2 separate regions of the Homo sapiens genome follow, and region 1 is linked to region 2. Evidence: promoter capture Hi-C in 16 types of primary human blood cells and fetal thymus (Javierre and others, 2016). All regions are on one chromosome and are shown on one strand. The core of a region is centred on a gene start or on the middle of the fragment in contact, and the rest is flanking DNA. Distances in the headings are between cores, read along the strand shown.

Region 1 (6,246 bases), core at 2,136-4,635, 160 kb before region 2:
GACATACAATCTACGTATTAATGCAGAAGGGGGCATTTACTAATTATGCTCTTTACCATTGGTCCTATGATAGCTGGTTTAAGTGATATGTCTTATTTTAGATTTCAGCACATATATATAAATATATAAAATACATATAAATATATATAAATATATAAAAAATATAAATATATAAAAATATATAAGAGATGGCAAAACCCCATCTCTACTAAAAATACTATATATATATATATATATTTTTTTTTTTTTTTTTTTTTGAGACAGAGTCTTGCTCTGTGGCTCAGGCTGGAGTGCAGTGGTGCAATCTTGGCTCACTGCAACCTCCACCTCCTGGGTTCAAGTGATTCTCCTGTCTCAGCCTCCCGAGTAGCTGGGATTACAGGCACCCACCACCATGCCCGGCTAATTTTTGTATTTTTAGCACAGATGGAGTTTCCACCACGTTGGCCAGGCTGGTCTCAAACTCTTGACCTCAAGTGACCTGCCCGCCTTGGCCTCCCAAAGTGCTGGAATTACAGGCATGGGCCACCATGCCGGACCCAGCATATATGTTTATCATTCAATATTTGTTGAACAGTAAACATATGAATCGAATAATAATAATCCTAATAATAGCATTATTAATAATAAGAACTAACACTTAATCAGGGATTACTATATGCCATATATTTCTCAAACAGCTTTGCATTTATTAGTTCATTTAATATTCCTATCAACAATTCTCCCCATTTTACAGATGATGAAACCAAGGCTCAAAGAGGTGAAGGATTTTTGAATCCACGTTTCCAGATTTCAAATCCTGAACTTGGACGTGGTTACTTTGAGGGTCAGAGCAGAGGATATAGATAAAAATACATACATGTATTTTATATACATATATACTATTATATAATCAAAAAAATTATTACTATTATTATTATTTTGAGATGGAGTCTTGCTCTGTCACCCAGGCTGGAGTGCAGTGGCTTGATCTTGGCTCACTGCAACCTCCGCCTCCGGGTTCAAGCGATTCTCCTGCCTCAGCCTCCCTAGTAGCTGGGATTACAGGTGTGCACCACCACTCCCCACTAATTTTTGTATTTTTAGTAGAGATGGGGTTTCACCATATTGGCCAGGCTGGTCTCAAACTCCTGACTTCGTGATCCACCCGCCTTGGCCTCCCAAAGTGTTGGGATTACAGGTGTGAGCCACCACTCCCAGACTTAAAAAGATTATTTTTAAAAATAGATACTAGTTATGGAGCTCTTATCCTATGTCAGTCATCATGATAAGGGCTGTTCATGCCTTTTTTTTTTGGTTAATTGCCACAACCCTATGAACAGATGCAGAAACTGAGGCTCAGAGAAGTTAATGACTTGGCCCAGAAGACATAGCCAGTACTATGAAATAAGTTACCCTAACTCTTAGTAAACTACACTGCCACTCTATAGATACAAATTGCCTTCATCATCATTATCAATCAGCACAGAGAATAAGAGGCACTCACCATCAGGGAAATTCAAATCACAACCACAATGAACTACCACTTCACACCCACTAGCATGGCTATAATAAAAAAGACAGACAATCAGCCGGGCGTGGCGGCTCATGCCTGTAATCCCAGCACTTTGGGAGGCCAAGGTGGGCGGATCACTTGAGGTCAGGAGTTTGAGACCAGCCTGGCCTACATGGCGAAACCTCATCTCTACTAAAAATACAAAAATTAGTGAGGAGTGGTGACGCACACCTGTAATCCCAGCTACTCATGAGGCTGAGGCAGGAGAATCGCTTGAACCGGGGAGGTGGAGGTTGCAGTGAGCCAAGATTGCGCCACTGCACTCCAGCCTGGGCAACAGAGCAAGACTTCATCTCAAAGACAAAAACAAAATGACAACAACAAAACCCAAAAAGACAGACGATAACAAGCGTTGGTGAGGATGTGGAGAAATTGGATCCCTCATACTCTGCTGATAGGAATGTAAAAAACTGCAGCTGCTGTGAAATTCAGCTCCACATTCCCCCCAAAGGTGAAACATAGTTAACATATGACCTAGCAATTTTTACTCTTAGGTACATATTCGAGAGAAAGGAGAATATATATCCACATAAAACCTTGTACACAAATGTTCATGTGGCATTATTCATGATAGCCAAAAAAGAGAAACAACCCCAATGTCCATCAATGGATGAATGGATAGAAAAAAGTGGTCTATCCATGCAATGGAGTACTACTCAGCCGTAAAAAGGAATGAAGTATCAGCCGGGTGCAATGGCTCACGCCTGTAATCCTGACACTTTGGGAGGCCGAGGCAGGCAGATCACTTGAGTCCAGGAGTTTGAGACCAGCCTGGACAAAATAGTGAGACCCCGTCTCTTTAAAAAAAAAAATTGAATGAAGTATCAACACATGCTACAACATGGATGAGCATTGAAAACACGCTAAGTGCCACAAAGGACCACATATTATGTGATTCCATTTATATGAAATGTCCAGAATCGGCAAATCCATAGAGGCAGAAAGGAAATTGATGGGTGGGAAGGAGGAGGAACAGTGTTGGAAATGATGGTGAAGGAGTGTGGGATTCCTTTTGAGTCGATTAAAATATTCTAAAATTGATTGTGGGGATGGTTGCACAACTCTGGGAATAATCTGAAAATCATTAAATGGTACCCTTTAAATGGGTCAATTGTATGGTGTATAAATTATATCTCAGTAAGTTTCTTTTAGAAGAAACAAAAACCAAAAAGCAGGGCCTTCCTGACGTTGGTGAGGACCTAAAGTTATAACACATTTTCAAGCCTGGTCCTATTCCTCCCAAGCATGGTGACTCAGATGCCAGCATGATCACCAGGCGTGCCCTGAGATCCTCGCCTCCTCCCTGGGGATCCAGGGTGTTGCCCTGCGCTTTCCTACCTTCCCCAGGCACGCCCTGCCCTGCGCGCCCTGGCGGGCCTGAAGTAGAGCAGAAAGGAATCCCGCTTGTCCTGTGGCTTCTCTCTGCTGCAGCCTGGCACCGTTTCCTCTTGCCTGCTGCTGCTTCCTCCCTCCCGCCCAGCTGGCTGTGAGAGCACGTCTCAGATTCGAAAACCATGTGAGATTCAGAATGTGCACCTGAAGCTGCCCGCTGGGGCTTTCTGTGCTGTCGGCCACTGCAGAGATCTGGGTCCTCCCCAGATCCCACTTACCAAACGTAGGAAAAGATGATCACGTGGAAGAACCACTTAATGGTGCCATAATTCATGCTCTGGATCCGAGTGACTTTGTTCGTCTCATACTGGAAAACATCACTGCAGCTGCAGCAGGCCGGCATGGTGACAGCCTCCCTCCCTGCGCGGAGCTGGACCAGAGCTCTACTCTTCCTGACAGGGCCACAGCAAGCCCCCTCCCAGTAACTGCAAAATGAAACGTACTGGTTTTTAGCAGGAGTCTTTAACTTCAAGCTCCTCCAATGACTGCAGAGTTGGGGCGGGCCCTGGCAGTGGCCCCACATGTGGCTGTGATAAACAAGAAGCGCCAAGTCCTACGGGCCTGGCTGGCAGATGACCTCACCCCAGCTGGCCTCCCCCAGATGCCTACACAAAGATGGTGTTCAGAGGATGGGCATTTTTAGAATTCTCCCTTTTCCCCCCTTTCCTTTCACTTTTTTGGTCTCATGTCTCTTGGGAGAAAGGGGCAGCCTTGCAAATGTCACAAGACTGGGAGCTTCCATTATGCCTCAGAAAAGGACTGAGATCTTTCCATTGCCTGAAGCCCCACTCAGAGATTGATTCATTCATTTCTACAACCCTTTATTCAGCCCCTGATGTATAGGAGCTCTGGGTAAATGAAGATCTCCCCCTCTTCTTCCACCGCCCCTTATAATACTCTGGTCTGCAGTTGGTGGGGGAAATCAGATTTGCAGGGGTAGGGGTGGTGGGGGTGGAGGGGCTTTATTTTTCTGCCAGATCTTTCATGCTTGACCCTCTGAGTTACTCTCCACCCTCCTCTGCACCCCGGCAGGTCGATCTATGACCTAGACCAATCAGCCAAAGATCACCAGGGACACAGTGGCAGTCCAACAAAGTTAGGTTTGTTGACCTATTCAGTGAGGGACACCACCCACCAGAAGAGCTACGCACATCACCAAACAAAGGAAAACAGCAATTTATTATAGGATTCCGAGGAAAGTGGAGTTGAGATAAAATCTAAATGAAGTCATGTTTTGATGGACTCAAAGCAAAACAGGTTTGTACAAAGCAGTCAACTTCAGTCTGGATTGCAAAGAGGACCCAGGGCCCTGTTTCCTAGGAAGCAACATAGCTAAGATACATGTCAAATGTGTCCAGAAAATCTTTATCTGAAGCTCTGCTCCTGAGTTGTAAATTGAGGCTGCTTCTCTGTGTCAAGATGACTTAAATCTTCCAGGCAAAATTGGAATATTTCAGTCTTAGTCATGTAATTTCAAACAGCAAAGTTTCTGAAGGTCTCTGATTTTAAAGGACAATGTTTCAGCAGTCACTCAAAGATGCAGGGTTGTATTATCACTTTACAGCTACAGAGAATTATTGTTCCCTGTTATCTTTACAGCTGGCTTGATCCCTTTCTGTTATTCCAGCCTGCTAAGTGGCCGGGTAGATTTTCAGTTTTTCAGTCTAAACTAATTGTACTTTCTCACACATACAAACTGCATCAGGGTTCCCCTCACCTTCTGGCTTCCAGTTCAGGAGACTGGAGAGCAGTGAGGATGGACGTGACTCCCTGGCCCTGCCCTTCTCAGTTGCATATAGGCAGGGCTTCTGGGCACCACTCCCTCCTTTAGTCCTGGGAGTGGTAAGGGCTCCCCACTCTTACCAGCCCCAGGAAGCTCACTATCTCCTATTGCTTTTTCTTAACTCTGTCCACACCTTTGTAAATGGTTCCATCATTAGTTACCCCACTTGAGTATGCCATTGCTTTCCTGCCGGGAATCTGAGTGATACGGTCATCTTCATCTGTAAAAAGAGGAGATTCACAGGTAAAGCCTGATGCTTAGAACATAGGCTCTAGGGGACTAATGGCCTGGCTTCCGATCCTGGCTTCACATCTTACCAGCTCTGTGACCCTGGACAGCTCTGTTTATGCTATTCATTCACTCATTCCCAAGAGCACCAGGAATAGTAGATATGGCAGTGAACAGGCAGACAAGTCAAATGTCCATCAGCTGATGGATGGATACACAAAAGCACGAAAGCCCATACAAGGGAATATTATTCAGCCATAAAAAGGAATGAAACACTGACCCATGCTCCAACATGGATGAACCTTGAAAACACTACGCTTAAGTGAAAGAGGCCAGACACAAAAGGATACATCTTTTACGACTCCATTTATAGGAAATGTCCAGAATAGGCAAATCACTTCAGTGTTGCTCTTGCTACCACTCAAAGACATCTATTTTCTTGTCTTTCTTTCTTTCTCTTTTCTTTCTTTCTTTTTTTTTTTTTTTTTTTTTTTTTGTTTTTTTGAGATGGAGTCTCCCCCTGTTGCCCAGGCTGTAGTGCAGTGGCAAGACTTTGGGTCACTGCAACCCCTGCCTCCTGGGTTCAAGCGATTCTTGTGCCTCAGCCTCATGAGTATCTGCAATTACAGCCATGCGCACGCTCAGCTGATTTTTGTGTTTTTAGTAGAGATGGGGTTTCACCATGTTGGCTAGGTTGGTCTCGAACTCCTGGTCACAAGCGATCTGCCCGCCTTAGCCTACCAAAGTGTTGGGATTACAGGCGTGAGCCACTACACCCGGCCTGTTTGTTGTCTTTCTGCTGCACTCTTGCACTGGTCCCTCATGCTCTCCCCTCTCCACTCCTTCAGCCCTTGTCCGCTATTTCATCACTGCTACCTCCTCCACTCCATGGATTCTGTTCTCAAAGAGGTTACCAAAGACTTCTCAGTTGCCAGACTGGGTGGATATATTTTATTCCTTATGTTACTTGATCTCTTGGATGCATTCAACATCACTGGCTACTTTCTGCATCTTGGACCAGTATTTTCCCTTGGTTTCCATGACTTTCCTGGGTCCCATGTTCTCCTGGTTTCTCATTTGTACTTCTATGACTCTTTATCTTATCTTTCTTTTTAAAAAATTAATTTAATTAATTTATTTTAGAGACTGGGTCTTGCTCTGTCGTCCAGGCTGGAGTGCAGTGGCGCAATCATGGCTCACTGCAGCTTCAAACTTCTGGGCTCCAGTGATCCCCCTACCACAGCCTCCTGAGTAGCTGGGACCACAGGCACATGCCACCAAGCCTCGT
Region 2 (7,047 bases), core at 1,895-4,394:
AATTTTTAAAAAATATATTGAGTTAAATTTTTAAATTAAGAAAATTTTGGCCGGGCGTGGTGGCTAACGCCTGTAATCCCAGCACTTTTGGGAGGCCAAGGTGGGTAGATCACCTGAGGTCAGGAGTTCGAGACCACCCTGACCAATATGGTGAAACCCCATCTGTAATAAAAATACAAAAATTAACCTCAGGAGGCTGAGGCAGGAAAATCACTTGAACCTGGGAGGCGGAGGTGGCAGTGAACCAAGATCATGCCACTGCACTCTGGCCTGGGTGATACAGCAAGACACTGTCTCAAAAAAAAAAAAAAAAAAAAAAAAGACAATTTAAAAGTTAACATTTAGGCCGGGCGCGGTGGCTCACGCCTGTAATCTCAGCACTTTGGGAGGCCGAGGTGGGCGGATCACAAGGTCAGGAGATTGAGACCATCCTGCCTAACATGGTGAAACCCCGTCTCTACTAAAAATACAAGAAATTAGCCTGGCGTGGTGGCGGGCGCCTGTAGTCCCAGCTACTTAGGAGGCTGAGGCAGGAGAATGGCGTGAACCCAGGATGCGGAGCTTGCAGTGAGCCGAGATCGCGCCACTGTACTCCAGCCTGGGCGACAGAGCGAGACTCCCTCTCAAAAAAAAAAAAAAAAAAAAAAAGTTAACATTTAGAATAATTTTAAATTAGATTTAATTAAAATATTATTTATATATTATACAAATATAATGTTATATTTAGTTTAAAATAATTTGGTTTAAATTAAAATTTTATTTATAAAAATAACTTTTTATTTTAAAAATTAAAGAAAATAACTTCACCTGTTCCATTTTACTTTTTATTTTTTTAAGAGCCAGATTCTTACTCTGTCACCCAGGCTGGCATGATCATAGCTCACTTCAGCCTAGAACTCCTGGCTTCAAGCAATCCTCCCACCTCAGCATCCCAAGTAGCTGGAACTACAGGTACGCACCATCATGCCCAGCTTCATTTATATATTTATCTTTTTTGTTTGTTTTTTGAGACAGGGTCTCCTTCTGTCGCCCGAGCTGGAGTGCAGTGGCACAATCTTGGCAAACTGCAACCTATGCTTCTGGGGCTCCCGTGATCCTCCCACCTCAGCCTCTCCAATAGCTGGGACTACAAGCGTGTGCCACCATGCCTCGCTAATTTTTGTATTTTTTAGTAGAGACAAGAGTTTGCCACATTGCCCAGGCTGGTCTCAAACTCCTGAGCCCAAGCCATCTGCCCACCTCGTCCTCCCAAGGTGCTGGGATTACAGGGGTGAGCCACTGCACCCTGCCTATTTATTTACTTTTCTTAGAGATGGGGGTCTTGCTTTGTTGCCCAGGCTGGTCTCGAACTCCTGGGCTCAAGCAATCCTCTCACCTCAGCCTCCCAAAGTGTTGGGATTACAGGCATGAGCCATCTCACCTGGCCAGTAATGTATTTCACTCCAAGAACAACTCATGAATTAGGAACTGTTATAATCCCCCTTCTGCAGGGGAGGAAAGAGAGGCTCAGAGAGGTTAAATGACTGCTCAGAGTCCCTCAGAGCTGGGCTTTAAGTCCACCTGAGGCAGGCGGACGGGCTGTGCAGGACAAGTTGGCAGCCCCCGCCTTAAGGAGAGTGGTACCCTCTTTCCTCCAGTGCATTTATGTTTTATTTTTATTTTTGAGACAGAGCCTCACTTTGTCACCCAGGCTGGAGTACAGTGGTGCGATCTCAGCTCACTGTAACCTCTGCCTCCTGGGTTCGAGCAATCCTCCTACCTTAGCCTCCTGAGTAGCTGGGACTACAGGCACACACCACCATGCCTGGCTAATTTTTGTATTTTTGGTAGAGACAGGGTTTCACCATGTTTGCCAGGCTGGTCTCAAACTCCTGGCCTCAAAAGATCCACCCACCTCGGCCTCCCAAACTGTTGGGATTATAGGCGTGAGCCACCGTGCCCGGCCAAGTGCATTTTTTTGTAAACCCCCGTGCAAGTTGCTTTGAGGTTGAGCAGCTTACTGCTGGGGACAGCATTCTCAAGTCCAGGCTAAACAGGGAAGATGCTGTGTGCTGTCCCTTTGTGGCTTTGAGGTTCTCCTGCTTATTCTCTTTGCTGCCTGCAGCTGCCTCTTGGTGACTTTCCCTTTCCAGGGAGCCAGAGGAACCAAGGAGTGTTGGCCCTGACTCCTGCCCCCAGCATGTAAACTCATTAACTGCTGGGTCCTCAGGCAGTTAGGTGGCTGAGCATTTGAGTCTGGGACGGCAGGTGGATTTGGTTGGAGAGGGAATGACAGAGATTGGGGAGGAGCCTCCAGAGTCTAAAGAGATAGGTACACAAGCAGAAAGTTCCAGCCCCCAGCCTGCCTTTCCCCCATGCTCAGGGGACAAAGCTGAATTAACTCGAGGTCAGGAATGGCATTTGCATTTGCATTCTTGAGAGTCACTGCAAATAAGAGCTGTAGTCATGGTGAGTGGTTAAGGCAATGGACTAGAGAACCACTGAGAAAAAAAGCGAACAGTGGCTGGGCGCAGTGGCTCATGCCTGTCATCCCAGCACTTTGGGAGACCGAAGTGGGTGGATCACTTGAGGTCAGGAGTTCGAGACCAGCCTGGCCAACATGGTGAAAACCCGTCTCTACTAAAAATACAAAAATTAGCCAGGCTTGTCAGTGGGCACCTATAATCCCAGCTAGTCGGAAGGCTGAGGCAGGAGAATCACTTGAACCCAGAAGGCAGAGGTTGCAGTGAGCTGAGATCATGACACTGCACTCCAGCCTGGGTGACAGAGAGAAACTCCGTCTCAAAAAAAAAAGAAAAAGAAAAAAAAAAAAAGGAACAGCCGGACATGGTAGCTCATACCTGTAATCCCAGCGCTTTGGGAGACCGAGGCAGGTGGATCACCTGAGGTCAGGAGTTCCAGATCAGCCTGGCCAACATGGTAAAACCCCATCTCTACTAAAAATACAAAAATTAGCTGGATGTGGTGGCGCACACCTGTAGTCCCAGATACTCAGGAGGCTGAGGCAGGAGAATAGCTTGAACCCGGGAGGCGGAGGTTGCAGTGAGCAGAGATCACGCCACTGCACTCCAGCCTGGGCGATAGAGTAACAATCCGTCTCAAAAAAATCTGAAAATTAAAAATTAAAAAGTGAACAGTTGTTTAGTAAGTGCAGTAGGTAGGCCAAGATAACTATTAAGTATGTCCTAACAAGGTAGCTGCTTGAAAAAAATAATGCACATAAATTAAAAAAAAAAAAACTATTTTCACTCATTCTTAACTTCTCGTATGGATGTACTAACGGGAGGCCTGTGCCTGTTGGGCTGTCCACAGCTACTCAAACCTTGAGATTAGATTGGACGCTATCTAATCTCATTTCCTGTTACACAATAACTTCTGCATGGCACTTGCTTTTAATCATGACAACTGCCATACACTCAGCTTTACAAAATCATGTCATTGTGGAAAGGAAGTTCCCTCCATCTAACATTCAAATTTAACTATCCTGAGCTGGTAGTTTGCAAGGTGTCCAACAGATGTCACTGTGTTTCCTTCGCAAATTCTCTAAAATAGTCTGCTGTGTCCCGGGGCATAGTAGATATTCAAGAAATGGTGGCTATGAGTTTTATCACAATTCTCTCCTACTGGGTGAGCAGCTGTTTGCAAGACTAAAATTCGGGCGAGGCACAGGCTTCCCCTTGGTCTTAGCAGCTAGCACAAGACGAGTGTCCCTTCAGCCAGTCTCAGAGCTCTTTGGCAATTCAACTGACCCTTGTCCTTCAGTCCAGACAATGCCCCAGGGCCCACCTGCATTCAAACTCGGACTGTTCTCCTTCCCACCCCTATTATCTTTTCAACTTTATGGACAGTACATGCAATTTTCTCATTCATTTTCTCATTTAACATCTAACAGCTTCATGATATCCCCATTTTACAGATAAGGAAACCAAGGCTTTAAGAGGATAGGGACCCTAATCGGCTAAGGCAGAATTAGGATTTGAACCCAGATCCCCATGACGCCAGAATCTAAGCCTTGACCAAATATGTGTTACTATTACTTTTGTTGTTGTTGTTGTTCTGGGTAACTCCAACCCTCTGCTCGTTGGCCTTGTCACCTCAGTGCTGATTTTGCAGATGAAGAGACTAAGGTTCCGAGGTGCTAGAGCACAGTGGTTAGGAACACACACTCTAGAGCCAGAGTGCCTGGGTTTGAGCCTCGTTCTGCCGTTTACTAGCCGTATGGCCTTGGGCAACTTGCTTAACTTCTCTTTGCCTCAGTTCCTCTTCTCTTGGGTTGTTAGGAGAATGAATGAGGTGATATCCACAGTGTCCAACACCCTGCAAGCGGCCAGGTGTGGTGGATCACACCTGCAATCCCAGCACTTTGGGAGGCCGAGGCAGGTGGATCATTTGAGGTCAGGAGTTCGAGACCAGTCTGGCCAACATGGCGAAACCTCATTTCTACTAAAAATACAAAAATTAGCCGGGCGTGGTGGCAAACAACTGTAATCCGAGCTACTAGGGAGGCTGAGGCAGAAGAATCGCTTGAACCCAGGAGACAGAGGTTGCAGTGAGCCAAGATTGCACCACTGCACTCCAGCCTGGGCGACAGAGTGAGACCCTGCCTCAAAAACTAAAAATAAAAAATGAACAGTGTCCAACACCTTGAAAGCATTCCGCATGACTGAACGATCACTGTTACGTGATTACCAACATGACGACCCCACTTCTCTTGGCCAAACTGAGTTCTCTTCTCTTGTAAAAACTTCTGCATATGAAGTCACCCATTCCATTTGACTCTTTAGCCCTCATCCTGGCATTCAAGGGCATGGACGACTCAACCCCACTCTCTAGCCAGCCTGACCTCTCCATTCCCTTCTCTGGCGTAGAGGCCACTCCCACCACCTGCCCTTACCCCCTGCCCACTTTTGTCAGCCTGTACTGTGTTGAAGCTCCCAGGAGAGACAACTGCAGTCATCACTTTCCACTGTGTTCAGTGATGTCAGTTCGGCCCAGCTGGAGGTACTCACATCATGGAAACAGACCATCAGATTTGGTGTGTGTGTGTTTTATTTTGCTTTTTCAGAGAGCCAGCTGTTAAACACTAGCCAACACCCCATTGATGCTGTTCCTTCTACCTGAAACACCTCGCATTGCCGGTGAGCTCTAAAGACAAAAGGACCTGGGTCTGCATTTCCCAAAGGCAAGACTCTGGTATCACCTGCATATTATTTTCCCATATTTGAGCACCACTGCCTTTTGCATTATTTACTTAGCAGTTTTGCTCCTGTCAACTCACTTTTTTAAAACTAAACTTATTTTAAAAAGAAAAGTTTTGGCCGGGAGCGGTGGCTCATGCCTGTAATCCCAGCACTTTGGGAGGCCGAGGTGGGCAGATCACCTGAGGTCGGGAGTTCGAGACCAGCCTGACCAACATGGAGAAACTCCGTCTCTACTAAAAATACAAAATTAGCTGGGCGTGGTGGCGCATGCCTGTAATCCTAGCTACTCGGGAGGCTGTGGCAGGAGAATTGCTTGAACCCAGGAGGCGGGGGTTGCAGTGAGTCGAGATCGCCCCATTGTACTCCAGCCTGGGGAACAAGAACGAAACTCCGTCTCAAAAAAAAAAAAAAAAAAGAAAAAGAAAAGAAAAGCTTTATATAATTTTAATACTCAAAAAAACAGTATCCCGGCCAGGCACAGTGGCTCACACCTGTAATCCCAGCAATTTGGGAGGCCAGGCAGGAGGATCACTTGAGGCTAGGGGTTCAAGACCACTTGAGGCTAGGGCCAACATGGTGAGACCCCGTCTCTACTAAAAATACAAAAATTAGCCAGGCATAGTGGCACGTGCCTGTAATCCCAACTACTCGGGTGGCTGAGGAACAAAAATCACCTGAATCCAGGAGGCGGAGGTTGCTGCGAGCCGAGATCGTGCCACTGCACTTCAGCCTGGGTGACGGAGTGAGACTCTGTCTCAAAAAAAGAAAAAGAAAAAGAGTATCCCTTGCCATAAATAGCAAGCAGTCATTCAGACATGGAAATGAGGCATTCACACTTGTTCTTGTTTCACACTAAGGCCCTAAGCCTAAGGAGGGTTTCTCTATGTTGAAAGGAAATTAGGCAGTGTTCAGAGGGGTGTTAAAGATAGACTAGCAACTAATTGAAACTTTCTCCTCAATGTAAGCACTTTAGAAGGGACTGAAAAGAGAATGTTCTCCCTACATGTACCATATCACCTACAATTACCTCGTGTACCACTATTTTGCAAATAAATGCCAGAGGCAAGAGTACATTTTGATGCTTTAGCCTAGCACTCAAAGCCCTCCTCGATTTGAATCTTTCCAGCCTCATCTTGCACAGCCCCTCCATACCCAGACCTCACCCACTCTATTTGCCATCTCCAGAACATACCCCTAACTTTCTCACCTCTGTGCCTTTGTGCAAGCTGCTCCCTCTACCTGGAAACCTCCATTTGTCAAGCTGCTGCTGTCTTCAAGATCTACCTGGTCAGAATCTCCTGCTGTCCTCTTCTGCCACCCACAGCAATGTGAGCCTTCACTGGCTGGCCTTCCCTACTCACTGGAGCAGAGCTACGGCATCAGAATGCCCTGGAGCAGGGGTTAGAAACACAGATTTCTGAGTCTACACTCGAAGATTTTTTTTTCTTTCTTTCTTTTTTTTTGTTTTCCAATTTTTCTAATTTTAGAGATGGGGTCTCACCACGTTGCCCAGGCTGGTCTCAAGCTCCTGGACTCAGGTCATCCTACCACCTAGGCCTTCTAAAGTGTTAGGATGAGCCCTGAACCTTGTAACATGAACATTTATTAGTTATATCTGGAAAAAAATATAAAGTTATTTTTATTTGGGTGATACTGCCTTCAAAAAACAAAAACAAAAAAAAACAGGAGGCCGAGCACAGTGGCTCATGCCTGTAATCCCAGTGCTTTGGGAGGCTGAGGCAGGCGGATCACTTGAGACCAGGAGTTCAAGACCAGCCTGGCCAACATAGTGAAACCCCGCTTCTATTAAAAATACAAAAATGGGCCAGGCACGGTGGCTCATACC

Evidence for each region. Contacts are between HindIII fragments. The CHiCAGO score rates a contact against its expected background, and 5 or more counts as called.
Region 1: a contact is called between the fragment with the promoter of P2RX7 here and the fragment with the promoter of HNF1A-AS1 in region 2, in 1 of 17 cell types (neutrophils). The highest score is 5.3, in neutrophils.

What each region holds. Positions count from the first base shown.
Region 1 is chr12:121,130,015-121,136,260 of GRCh38, reverse strand. It overlaps P2RX7 (purinergic receptor P2X 7), which reads right to left and starts at 3,385. Exons shown (of 13, transcript NM_002562.6): 1 at 3,166-3,385. The coding sequence starts at 3,290. The region is part of intron 2 of LOC105370032 (a long non-coding RNA gene); the gene reads left to right. The HindIII fragment of the contact is 14,919 bases long and covers 1-6,246 here.
Region 2 is chr12:120,968,389-120,975,435 of GRCh38, reverse strand. HNF1A-AS1 (HNF1A antisense RNA 1) reads left to right here and starts at 3,144. Exons shown (of 1, transcript NR_024345.1): 1 at 3,144-5,598. RefSeq lists an enhancer at 2,024-2,551. The HindIII fragment of the contact is 11,110 bases long and covers 1-5,635 here.